Linked DNA regions of Homo sapiens: all the other regions are linked to region 1. The links are contacts of gene promoters, found by promoter capture Hi-C in human tissues and cell types (Jung and others, 2019). All regions are on one chromosome and are shown on one strand. Each heading gives the region's core, a stretch centred on a gene start or on the middle of the fragment in contact. The rest is flanking DNA. Distances are from core to core; before and after follow the strand shown. Region 1 holds the start of FANCE (FA complementation group E). Region 2 holds the start of SCUBE3 (signal peptide, CUB domain and EGF like domain containing 3). Region 3 overlaps ZNF76 (zinc finger protein 76). Region 4 has its middle 19 kb from the start of PPARD.

Evidence for each region. The method cuts DNA at HindIII sites, captures the fragments that hold promoters and counts their contacts. A contact is called where the count stands out against the background at its distance.
Region 2: a contact is called between the fragment with the promoter of SCUBE3 here and the fragment with the promoter of FANCE in region 1, in 1 of the 25 tissues and cell types used here (adrenal gland).
Region 3: a fragment that was not itself captured here is called in contact with the fragment with the promoter of FANCE in region 1 in 1 of the 25 tissues and cell types used here (spleen).
Region 4: a contact is called between a fragment that was not itself captured here and the fragment with the promoter of FANCE in region 1, in 1 of the 25 tissues and cell types used here (lymphoblastoid cells).

The regions. Positions count from the first base shown.
Region 1 is chr6:35,450,780-35,453,983 of GRCh38, reverse strand. It overlaps FANCE (FA complementation group E), which reads right to left and starts at 1,646. Exons shown (of 10, transcript NM_021922.3): 1 at 1,191-1,646. The coding sequence starts at 1,438. RefSeq lists a silencer at 1,096-1,995. The HindIII fragment of the contact is 29,524 bases long and covers 1-3,204 here.
Region 2 is chr6:35,212,347-35,215,550 of GRCh38, reverse strand. SCUBE3 (signal peptide, CUB domain and EGF like domain containing 3) reads right to left here and starts at 1,595. Exons shown (of 22, transcript NM_152753.4): 1 at 1,048-1,595. The coding sequence starts at 1,132. It overlaps LOC112267955 (a long non-coding RNA gene), which reads left to right and starts at 1,871. Exons shown (of 3, transcript XR_002956343.1): 1 at 1,871-2,922. RefSeq lists a silencer at 1,462-1,571. The HindIII fragment of the contact is 11,734 bases long and covers 1-3,204 here.
Region 3 is chr6:35,272,365-35,275,568 of GRCh38, reverse strand. All of the region lies in intron 1 of ZNF76 (zinc finger protein 76), which reads right to left. Among named protein-coding and RNA genes, the nearest start is that of ZNF76, 14 kb to the right of the region's middle. The HindIII fragment of the contact is 4,724 bases long and covers 1-3,204 here.
Region 4 is chr6:35,322,048-35,325,251 of GRCh38, reverse strand. No RefSeq gene overlaps it. Among named protein-coding and RNA genes, the nearest start is that of PPARD, 19 kb to the left of the region's middle. The HindIII fragment of the contact is 4,973 bases long and covers 1-3,204 here.

The sequences.
Region 1 (3,204 bases), core at 397-2,896:
TCCAGGAAATTTTAACCTGTTTTAGTGCCAGAGACCTGTGATCAGAATGAGTGTTAAATGCATTTGATAAAATATCTAGGATTATAAAGGAAATCAATTGTGCTGAAATACTCTTCTATCCAGGGGCCCCAGGTTAAGGCCCTGCCCTCTCCTTACTCTATCCAGAATAAGCCAGATAGCTGGGCAAACATTTCTATAGCTTCCAATTTGGGGATTCAGACAAGTTCTCCTGACCCATCTCCTGAAAGAAATTCAAAGTGGAGTGTAGGAAGAAAATATTGGAACTCCCATTTTCCCCTATTTATCTAAAACATAAGAAATTAAGCATTAGAAATATTTAGCATCTGGATGGTTTCCAGCATAAATTATGGGGGAGGGGTATCCAAGAGGAGTGGAAGGCTGGCCCCACTAGGAGCTGAACATGGCACCTCACCCACTCATTTTTCTGTGTGTTTTAGTTAACTTTGCTAGTTAAGTGCATCTGTAGATACTGTACTCTTTTTTTTTTAAGCAAAAGTTGTCCTCACAAATAAGCACGTGGCTTAAAAGAATGCCTGCCAAAAAATTGGAGATAATATCAATAACAGAAACACAACCAAATAAAATGGCAGGGCCGACACCTCTGCTCCTAGTAGGAATCCTTCGTCAGCCACAGAGAGGTTAAAAAAAAAGTTCAATGTCATCCAAGAGCCAGAAATTATCAAGAACACTAAAATATGGATTCACAGTTACCATTCTTAGAGAAAGCAATCTTGCCTTAAAGTGAACGTTATGCTTTGAAAAGCAGAGCATACAGCCACCAGGATAGCGGATACGTATTCCACCATCACGTTTTAAGTATCTATTTTTGTACTTTAAAATGTACGTATTTTAACACATGTGTACACTTTATACATAAGTATACTTACACTGGACGTACGAGTCCAGTTTTTTAGAGATGGAAGTACGCGATCAAAAGTGATTTGCCTCCACTTATCATCACTATACCTTACAGCGAACAGAAGGCGTGTGCCTCGAGTTCCCGGATCCTCGATGTCCCGCACACAGCAAGTGCTCAGTGAAGGGTGCCCCTGCTCATAGGGTGCGCGGCAGGCCGTCGCTGAAGGGGCTTATTTCACCTCTGTGTGTGTCGTTCCCCCGACAGCCCCCCGCCTCCCATACCTGCTAAGGGGCCGCGGGCGAGGACTTACAGCTCCAGACGGCCGTCAGGCCCCTGCACGACCGGCTCCTCCCGGCACAGGGCCTCGAGCAAGCGACCCCAGTCGAAGGGCTCCCAGCCGCGGCTGCCCAGCGCCCGGAGCACCCCCAGGCCGCGCCGCGCCCCCTCAGGCCCCGCCTGCAGCGCCTGCAGCAGGAGGCGGGCGGGGGCCTCCAGCTGCGCCCAGGGCGCCGGCTCCACGCCCTCAGCCCCAGGGAGCCCCGCGTCCGGTGTCGCCATGCCGGGGCACGGGTGCCGCGCCGCCCCCTACTCTGGTGTGGGGCCTCAGCTCAGAGGCTGAGGGGAACGGAGGACTCCAGCGCCGTCCCTGACGCGGCGGTGGCGGGCCAGCTCCAGCGCCTGTTACAAGCTCTCCTCGGCGTTGGGAGACCGGAGAAACCCGGCCGCCCGAAGCCGCAGCCGTTCCCGCGCTGTCGGAAAGGGAAGGAGGGAGGCGCGGCCGGGGGCGGAGCCTGAACGTGAGGCCGGCGCGAGGGCCGGTCGCAAGGGGCAGGGCCGGGCACAAGTCCAGCCGGAGTAGGTGGGCGGGGCCAAGGCCTGGGGCGTGCCCATGGGAGGGGGCGTGGACAAAACAAGTGGTTAGTTTGTGGGCGGTGTCGGGCCAGGGAGCCTGGAGCGGGGCGGGGGCGGGGGTTGATGGAGGGGTGGATCCGCCGCTGACGACCCCAACCCTCTCCCTTTCTTCATCACTCCCCAAAGTAGTGGAATGGAGTGGATGTCAGGGGTTCTGTTGTGCTAGAGGACCCGCGCTGTATTTACGCTGACGGCATGTTGCTTGTCATGGACTTCACCATAGAATTTGACCACAATTTACCACCCCACTTAGCTTCATCTCTTCCACAGGCCAAAAGTGCTATCATTTGGGTTTCAGTCCTCTCCAGAAATAGTATTTGATATACAAACATCCCTGAGAATGACATGGTCACAGTAAAACCTAACACTATTAATACGGCCAAAGACTTTCTTCTGAACTTCCTCCCAAAGACCAAGCAGTAACCTTGCTCTGGGTCGTTTATAGGGGGCCAGGTGTGGCTCCACTTCCTAGGGTTCAGTTTAAGGAAGTCCGCTGGAGAACTTGGCTTCCAGCCAAGGGTGGGATCACTGCAAAGCGTAGGAAATAAGCGAGAAGAGCCCCACAGTGCCTCCTAAACCTTGCTTTGGGGGCTAGCTTGTATTTCCTGTCCCAGCTCTGCTGCCACACACAGCCCTTCATTCAGGAAATGTTTACTGAGCACCTAGGGACTGGGGATACTGGGAACAAAACAAAGATCCTGGCCCTCATTGTCACACAACTGGGGAGAGACGGAAAGCTAATTAAACAATGTTTGTGATGTGTTCAAAAAGAACATAACACCGACACACAGCACGAAGTGCTTTTAAATAGGGTGGTCAGGCAAGATGAATGTGAAGATGAGGTTGGCAAGCCAGATAGAAGTCTGTGAGAAGACCATTTCAGTCCTCCCTGTGGAGGGCGGGGGGGCTCTGGGGCAAAAGCATGGCTGGAACGGAGGGCACTTGCTGGATAGTAATAGGAGTTGAGATCAGAGTGGGAACCAGGTCAGATCTTAAGAGGCCTGAGGTCACAGAAAGGAGTTGGGCTTTCACTCTGAATAGTATGGAAAGCCATGGGAGTATCTTGAGCTTGATCTGATCTCCATTTGAGCCAAAATGATTTCAAGGGAGATGTCGGGAAAGACTAGTGATATTTCTTAGATAATGGCTGCTTTGCAAATGCCAAAATAGCAAGAAAGAAGTTTCTTCCAGACACCTTCTGTTTCAGGTAAGCAGCTCTAACTTTACAGGGGATGTTTTGGGTCTTCGAATGACAAGCTGTTAGAGGAGTGGGACCTGATGAATAGCAGGCAGGGCCAAGAATGCTAAAAAGCCTGCAATGCCCTGTGCATCCTCACCTACAGCTTTACTCTGAGTGGCTGTGGCTCCCACCCACCAAGGTCTGTATTCTGGCCACCTGAAAGGGAACAGGG
Region 2 (3,204 bases), core at 346-2,845, 240 kb after region 1:
CAGCTGGCTTCAGGAGCCCCTGGGACAATAGGCAGAATCATACTCTCCTGGGCAAAACCTTGCCAGGAGGAATTTTCTTTTTGTCCATATAAATCTCTTGTCGGTGAGGACACGATGGGGGAGGGGTACAGCAAGAGGTCAAGGGGGAGGAGAAACTGTCCCGAGAGAACTGTAGTACATCAGCCTAGTCTCTGCCTGCACAGCCTTGGGACCTGCCAGGCGATGAGCTGGGGGTCAGGGACGGGGGCGGGAGGCCTCCCTGTCTCTCTTTAATTCCTAGAGGGATCTGTCAGAGCTCCCCGGCCTGGAATTCTACTTTGTTATTTTAATGCAATTCTGACCTGGATTTAAATGGAATTGGAAACCCGAGGCCTTAATAAATAAATATTATGATAAGAAATGAAAGCCATGCAAGACGAAAGAGATTTCACCCCAAAGAGGCAGAAACGCAACATTCCTGTCGGGAGCCAGTCACAGAAATTTTCTTCTCTTCTTCAGCCCCCTACCATCCGGTGAGAGATGAGTTGATTTTTCCATAAAAGATCCTATTTTTCTTCAACATTTTTCCACTGATAAGGCATCAACTTAGAAATGTCTAACTTTGCATGCGGGTTGGGGGTAAGGGAAAGAAATATACGGCACGGCTGAAAAGTTTTCATTATTCCCTCAGTCTCTCCAGGCCACAGCGTAAGTTTCTGGCAATGTTTGAGAGAAGAGAAAATTCTCTCTCAGATTTTGGAAGACAAGAAGTCTTTCGAAGATGCTGGGAGTGGATGAAGTCGAGCGGAATTCTGAGGCGCGTGGTCTCTTCTGCCCACCGCCCCCAAGAGTTTCTCACTCCTCTCTGCCGCCCCCAGCTTGTCCGGCTTTTCGCTCGGGGCGCAGCGCCCAGCGGTCGGGCCCCTGGCCGGGGAGTCCGGGTGCACAGAGCCGGGTTCTGACAGCAGCACGCTCCCCAGCACCTGCCCTGCCCCTCGGGAATCGCTCCTAGGCCCTGAGGCCCAGCAGCCAGGACAGCCCCCAGGCCGCGCGCCCCTCCTTCCTTACCTTGCGCGGCTTTGCTGTACTGGGCGGCGCGGGCGTGGACCAGCAGGACAAGCAGGCAGAGCCCGGGTACGCGCCCCGAGCCCATGGCTGGAGCTACTGGCGGCCCAGCCGCCGGGGCCGGTCTCGCGGCCAGGGGAGGGCGGAAGCCGGCCGGATCCCAGCTCGCAGGAGGGGGAGGGGAGGGGGCGCCCCGCCGGGGCCAGGCCGGGGGCTGCAGTCGCGGGGCGCGGACCGCGGCGCCCTCGGCGCGAGGCTCCCGATGCTACCGGCTCCTCCTGGCCGGACGTCGGGGAGAGCGAGGCGGAGAGTGCGACGAGGCGAGGGGCGCCAGGGGCGACTGACGGAGGGGAACCCCCGCCCTCTCCAAGCCGGCCTCTGCCAGCGGCGGCGGCGGGGCTGCTCCGTGTAATCCCACCCAATTCCCAGCTTCGCCGGGAGAGAGCTGCAGCCGGAGAGCGCGCAGAGCCCGAGCGAAGGACCTGAGAAAGGGGAGGGGAAACGCAGCGCCAGAAACACGCCCTTTCTGCCTCTCTTTCTTCCTCTCTCGCTCTTTCTCCGTCTCTCAGGCTCTTTTTCTTCGCCTTTCTCCTCCTCCTCCTCTTTCTCCTCCTCTCCTCGCTCCTTTTCGTTTTCTTCCTCCTCCCCCTCCTCCTCCTCCTCCTCCTCCTCCTTCTCCACCACCTCCTTTTTCGTGCCCTTTTTTCTTTCAAATGGGGCCTCGGCGCGGTGGCCGCTCCCCCTGCGCGCCCGGGCGCGGTGGCCCCCTCCCCAGGCTGCCGGGCCGCTGCCTGCAGGAATTTACAATCCGGCGATGGGGGAGCGGGCCTGGTCTCCATGGAGACGGCTTCCCCGGGAGCAGGGAGGTCAGGCGCAGACCGCGCGCAATCAATGGATCAATGCAAGCTCCGCTCGGCTCCAGACCAAACAGCACCGGGCTCCGACTCGTCCTCGCTCCCCTAGGAAAGAGTCGGGGAGCGAGGGTGCGTCCCCGCGCTCGCTCGCGAGGACGGCCGTGCGGCGCCAGGTTTGAACGCACACCTCCACCCGAGACAAAGAGGGTGCGAGGTGTTGGGGAGGCTGGGGCAGACGTGGACACACGGACACACGGGCACTCGGGCGTGTCCACCGACACAGCCTGACAGGGGACATAGGACCTCGGAACACACCGCCTCCGACACCAGGCCGAGTAACAACCTCTCAACTTTTACACCTACCACACCCCCAACCTCAAGACTCAGTCCCCATTCCTAGATGCGAGTCCACTTTGAGGACCAAAAAGAAAGTAGCCTCCGCCTGCTAAAACTGCCAGCTCCAGGGCAGACTCCCTTGCAGTTAAGGCCTTGGAGGTAAGCCTAATGAACCACCCTACCCGCAGAGACATGGACTCACATACAGACACTCTCATGTGGTCAGCACAGGGGCGAAAGCTACCCCACAGAATCATGTCTATGTGTATAAACACAGAGACATAGAGACAGGTACAAGAGGCTCCTCCAAACCTGCACCCCGCTTCAAGAGGTGGTCCTGACTGGTCCATTCTGAACCCTTCATCCTTCCAACTGAGGGGAAGCAGAGGAAAGAGAAAGGATATTTTTAAAACAGGGGCAAACCGCAGAAGGAGCAGGGTCTTCCAACCATGGATGCTGCCTCTTGACTGTTCACCCACTCTGTATCTTCTTTCCTTCCATTGTAAGGGAAAGAGGAAAGACCTCTTGAAAGGCTATGAAGACTTTCTTGGAGTGTGAGGCTGTGTTCAGAATGAGACCAGGCCAGGTCCAGTTTTCTACAGGGAAGATGCTGCTAGGACCCAGACTAGCCTCACAGAGCCCTCAGCGTACCCAGGAGGAAGAGGCAATGACCAAGATCTCCTCAAAGGTGATTCAGTTCTGAGACCTTCCATATTGGCTGCCCACATCAGCTGGGGCAAGGGGAGGACTTTGTTGGCAATGGTGCTGTCCACCAGGGAGAAGAGCTGAGCCCTTCCTTTCCTAGGGATTCAGTGGAAAAGTAGGATGGAAACAGACTCAAACTTCTTATCCTGGGATGAAGATTACTTTTGAACAAGTCATATGTCAATGGGCCTCAGTTTCCTCAGAAAACAAGAGGGTAGTGGATTCACTCAGTGGTGGAAAGGGGGCAGTGCCCCAAGGAAGCCTG
Region 3 (3,204 bases), core at 286-2,785, 180 kb after region 1:
AGTGCCCTGATTGCCATTTTTCTCCCTGTACTTTCTTTCAATGATGGTTTACTCTGAATCCTCCCATGCTGGCACTGAACTAACAACAGTGACATGGGCAGAGCCAAAGAAAGGCTTGTTACTGCTTCAGGATGGCTATGTGTGAGTTCTGCCTGCACTTGCCGGTTCAGACTCATTACTCCTGCAGCCCTCCGAGACAGGGCAGAGGGGCAGTGAGGGTGGCTGCTCTGTTTTCTCCTTGTAGGATATAAGGTTTACTAGCTCTGCAATGACCTGAGCTGTGTATAGGGGAGAGACAGACTGGGAGAGCGGAAGGTGAGAAAAGAGTGAAGACAGAAGGGAGCACTCTTGACTCTCCCAGAACTAGGAGCAAATCCAGTTCTGTTTGCTGCAATTTTTTTTCTTTTTTTTTTTGAGATGGAGTCTTGCTCTCACGCCCACGCTGGAGTGCAATGACACAATCTCGGCTCACTGCAACCTCCGCCTCCTGGGTTCAAGTAATTCTCCTGCCTCAGCCTCGTGAGCAGCTGGGATTACAGGCATGCACCACCACGCCCGGCTAATTTTTTTGTATTTTTAGTAGAGACGGGGTTTCACCATGTTGGTTAGGCTGATCTCGAACTCCTGACCTCTTGATCCGCCCACCTTGGCCTCCCAAAATGCTGGGATTACAGGCGTGAGCCACTGCACCCGGCCTGCTGCACTTTTAAATAAACTTAACCCATTACTGGTCCTGATGCAGGAAAACAACCCTTCACCTTTGCAATATATCGATGTGTTTCTTAATGTTAAAACATAAATTGTAATTATTGAGGAGAGAGAACATTTAGAAAAACCTTTTATTTATTTAGAGACAGGATCTCATTTTGTTGCCCAGGTTGGCATGCAGTGATCATAGCTCCTGTAAACTCAACCTCCTGGGCTCAAGCGATCCTCTTGCCTTAGCCTCCTGAGTGGCTGGGACTATAGGTGTGTGCCACTACTCCCAACTTTTTAGATACTTTGGATCTTTAGGTCTCTCCATGAATCAAGATGTGCTTAAACTGCCTCCTCAAAGGAGAAAAATAAGGGATGTGAAAGATAGGAAACTAAAGAGTAGCCATGGTTTTTGTGTTTTTCCACTTTATCATGGTTGAGACCTACTGCGCTCCACACACAAGCTGGGCTGTGCTGACTACAGGCACCTGTTCGCTATTCTATTGTCTTCTGCCAACCAGAACTCTGGACAGTTGGAACAAGGCTTTCTGTACTCTGCCTCAGCCAGCCCAGAGGGCAACTGTATTTAGAAGCCAAAAAAAGAAAACAACAACAAAAACATTTGCCTGAAAAGAATGTTCAATTTTGATTAGCAAAAATAATTATGACTTAATCTTCACTTAGAAACTTCTTCATTTGTAAACATAGAAAACTTCTCATGAGAAAAAAGACACATTAGTTTGGGAGGGATGAAGGCTGATGAAGATGAGTGGCAAACAAATCAGAACCAGATTTGGAAAAGTTGCAGTAAAATGATTCAATGTTTATTATAGAAAAATACTTCACTACACGCAGAAAAACCTAGTGAACAGGCCTGGTTCTGTGGGTTTCTAAACACTGAAGAGAAAACAGGAAATTAGTAACACAAACTTGCACTAACATAAGTTTTAAACAGCTAAAACACATCTTTGCATAAAGCATATTGCTTTTTTTCTTCAATTTTTTTTTTCTTCTTTTTAAAAGAAGAAGCGCCATTTAAAAGAAATCCCAGCACTTTGGGAGGCTGAGGTGGGAGGATCCCTTGAGCCCAGGAGTTTGAGACCAGCCTGGGCAACATAGTGAGACCCCCATTTCTTTTTTTTTTTTTTTTGTGAGATGGAGTCTCCCGGGTTCAAGCAATTCTCCTGCCTCAGCCTCCTGAGTAGCTGGGATTACAGGCATGCACCACCATGCCCATCTGATTTTTGTATTTTTAGTAGAGATGGGGTTTCACCATGTTAGTCAGGCTGGTCTTGAACTCCTGACCTCATGATCTGCCTGCGTTGGCCTCCCAATGTACTGGGATTATAGGTGTGAGCCATTGTGCCTGGCCCTGACTTGGGCTTTAAAAATCAATGTCTGGCCAGGTGCAGTGGCTCACGCCTATAACCCCAGCACACTGGGAGGCTGAGGCAGGCAGATCATTAGAGGTCAGGAGTTCGAGATCACCCTGGCCAACATGGCGAAACCCCATCTCTACTAAAAATACGAAAATTAGCCAGGTGTGGTGGTGCACGCCTGCAATCCCAGCTACTCAGGAGGCTGAGGCAAGATAATCGCTTGAACCTGGGAGGTGGAGGTGGCAGTGAGCTGAGATCACACCACTGCACTCCAGAGTTCACTGGGCAACAGAGTGAGACTCGTTTTTTTTTTGTTTTTTGTTTTTTGTTTTTTTTCTGAGACAGAGTCTCACTCTGTTGCCCAGGCTAGAGTGCAGTGGTGCGAGCTCAGCTCATTGCAACCTCCACTTCCTGGGTTCAAGCGATTCTCCTGCCCCAGCCTCCAGAGTAGCTGGGATTACAGGTGCGCGCCACCAGGCCCGGCTAATGTTTTTGTATTTTTAGTACAGACAGGGTTTCGCCATGTTGGCCTGGCTGGTCTCGAACGCCTGACCTCAAGTGATCCACCTACCTTAGCCTCCCAAAGTGCTGGGATTACAGGCATGAGCCACCATGCCCAGCCGAGACACCGTCTTAAAAAAATCAATGTGAGGCTGAGGTCAGGTGCAGACACCGTCTCTACAAAAATAATTGCCAGGCATGGTGGCACATGGCTGTGGTCCCAGCTACTCGGGGGCTGAAGTGGGAGGAACATTCAAGCCCAGGAAGTTGAGGCTTTGGAGAGCCATGATTGTGCCACTGCACTTCAACCTGTGTGACAAAGCAAGACCCTGTCTCAAAAGAAAATGAAAAACATCAATCTACTTCTTTTCTAATTCATGCTGGCATAAACACCAAGGTGGAGAACTGCCTTAAGAAGTTTTCTTCCTTTAACTACCAGAAGTCCAACTACCTCTTGGATATATATATGTGCATATACATACACACACACACACACACACACACACACACACACACACACACAGAAACAGGGTCTTGCTCTGTCACCCACACTACAAGTGCAACGGCATGATCATAGCTCACTGCAACCTTGAACTCCTAGACTAAAGTAATCTTCTTGCCTGAGACT
Region 4 (3,204 bases), core at 415-2,914, 130 kb after region 1:
TGCTTGAACCTAGGAGGCGGAGGTTGCAGTGAGCCAAGATTGCACCATTGCACTCCAGCCTGGGCAACAAGAGCGAAACTCTGTCTCAAAAACAAACAAACAACAACAACAAAAAAAAACCTGGAATCACTGACCCCAAAAATTCCACAGTTAGATCATAAGAAAACAGCAGAAAGGGGTTATGAGGGAATCTACACTGCTCTAGCCATACCCCATTCCCTTCTCAGAGAAAAGCCTGGCATTGATTAGATACCAGGCCTGACTAATACTGGCAGCAGAACTAGTGATAGATAGTAACTTGCCTGACAGAGGAACCTTCTTCTGGATTGGCAATTTTGATCTGGGCCCTGGACCTCTTGCACATTTTTTTTCTTTTTTTTTTTTTTAAGATGGATTCTGACTCTGTAGCCTAGGCTGAAGTGCAGTGGCATGATCATAGCTCATTGCAGCCTTGACCTTCGCATGCACCACACCTAGGTAATTAAAAAAAATTGTTTTTAAATTTTTGGTAGAGATGGGGTCTCACTACGTTGCCAAGGCTGGTCTCCAACTCCTGGCCTCAAGGGATCCTCCCACCGTGGCCTCCCCAGTAGCTGGGACTCTAGGCACATGTCTCCACACCTAATTTTTTTTTACTTTTTGTAGAGACATGGCTCACTATTTTGCCCAGGCTGGCTTTGAACTCCTGGCCTCAAGTGATCCTCCCACCTTGGCCTCCCAAAATGCTGGGATTACAGGCATGAGCCACTGCATCCAGCCACCTTGCACATTTTTAAGATGACATATAGTATTTTTCATCATTAGTTTAAAACATAATAGTTACCAGCCAGATGCGGTGGCTCATGCTTGTAATCCCAACACTTTGGGAGGCCGAGGTGGGTGGATCACTTAAGCCCAGGAGTTTGAGATTAGCCTGGGCAACATGGTGAAACCTTGTCTCTACAAAAATACAAAAATTAGCCAGTCTCATAACCCAGTCTCAAAATAAATAAATAGATTAAAATTTAAAATAAAATTAAATTAAAAAAATAAAAAAAAAACAAAAAGCAATAGTTACAGAGGATAGGATGCATACAATTTCTGTCTTTTTTTTTTTTTTTTTTTTTTTGAGATAGTGTCTCACTCTATCACCCAGTCTGGAGTGCAGTGGCACGATCACAGCTCACTGCAGCTTCAACCTCCTGGGCTCAGGTGATCCTCCCACCTGAGCCTCCTAAGTAGCTGGGACTACAGGTGTCTGCTACCACACCCGGCTAACTTTTTTTTGTATTTTTTGTAGAGATGGGTTTTCGCCATGTTGCCCAGGCTGGTCTCAAACTCCTGAACTCAAACAATCCACCCACCTTGGCCTCCCAAAGTGCTGGGATTACAGGTGTGAGCCACTGCACCCAGCTGCCTTTATTAAAAAGTAAAGGCCATCCCAAATCCCAGCTCCTACCTAAAACTTCCTTTTCTCTGAATTCCTACAGCACTTTGAGCTTCACCGCTCATCCTTGAAATCTGCCTCATTATATTAGCAGCTTTGTTTCACGACACTTTAAATAGACTGTAATGAAGTTCCTTGCAATCAGGTTTAGTGTATTTGCAAAGTAAATCAGGTGCAGTGGCTCACACCTGTAATCCCAGCAATTTGGGAGGCTGAGGCGGGCAGATCACTTGAGGCCAGGATTTCGAGACTAGCCTGACCAACGTAGTGAAACCATGTCTCTACTAAAAGTACAAAACAACAAAAAAATGCCAGGTGTGGTGGCACACGCCTGTAATCCCAGCTACTCCAGAGGTTGAGATAGGAGAGTCGTCTGAACCTGGGAGGTGGAGGTTGCAGTGAACCAAGATCAGGCACTGTGCTCCAGCCTGGAGACTGATCAGGCACTGTGCTCCAGCCTGGAGACTGATCAGGCACTGTGCTCCAGCCTGGAGACTGATCAGGCACAGTCTCCAGCCTGGAGACTTGGTTTCAAAAAATCAGATAGCACATAAACTCCAGGAAGGCAGGGACTCTGTTTTTGTTCTGTACAATATAGCCAGAAGCTGGCATATAATAAGAGCTTAATAAACATTTGTTGAATGAGGGCAGAGTGCATTGGCTCCTGCCTATAATCCCAGCACTTTGGGAAGCTGAGGCGGGAAAACTGCTTGAGCCCGGGAGTTGGAGGCCAGCCGAGTTTTGTAGAGACCCTGTCTCTTGTAGGGACCTGGAAAACGAATGAACTTGAATTTCAGCTGCTCTATAACTTTTTAGCTTTGTGACACCTGAATTATTCACTTCAGAATTTATTCATTCATATATGTATTTGACAAATATTTGTTGCATGCCTTCTAAGAGCCAATCACCGTGGCTCTTAGTTCAAGAAGATATGTCCCTGCCCTTGAGGGGCTCAAGCATTTAGTTATGAAGGCTGTTACAAGGATGGGGGAAAGGAAGTCAGTGTGAGGCCTAGAGGGAGCTGCAAGTAGCTCTATAAGGCAGAGGCATAGGAGGCCCTCCTGGGACAGATCGCCATGGGCCTCATCTGCCACATATGGGAATGTGAATTTAAATATCAAAACTCTAGGATACCACCAAGGGACTGGAAATTAGGAAGAGTGAAGGACAAATCTGCATTTTAGAAATCCTATCCAGGTGGCAATGGGGAGAGGGGTTGACAAGGAGACCTGGTTACTGCTCTTATCTAGTTGGGAAGTGACAAGAGCCAGAATAAGGCAGTAGCCATGACAGACATGGCCTCAAAAGTGTGGATCTGAGAGTAACCAAGGAAGTCCAATCAGTTGGACTTGGTGAGATGGGCAAGACGGAGGAGGAGTTAAAGGTTAACAACCAGGTAGAAAACACAAAGGCCTCAGCCATGGCAGTAGCCATGGGGATGGAAAAGGAGGGACAGATAGGAGAGTAGGAAGGAGAGAGTCTATTGGATTTGATGATGGGGTTTGGATGAGGGGGCTGAGAGAGAGGACATGAATCTTCCTAAATACCCAGATCTCTGTCTTGGCTAACAAGGTCAGCGAGTCAGAGATGATGGGAAGAAAAGCAAGTCTGAAAGGCTTTGGTAAAGTTGCCAAATCTCTCTGAACCTCAATTCATCCATTTGTAAAATGCCAATGGTGATTTCCAGCTCTAAGAGTTGTCATGAGAATTAAATAACCTGGAAAACTGCAGTAGACACTCAATAAACACTTTTGGCTGATTCTAATAATGGTGCTTGC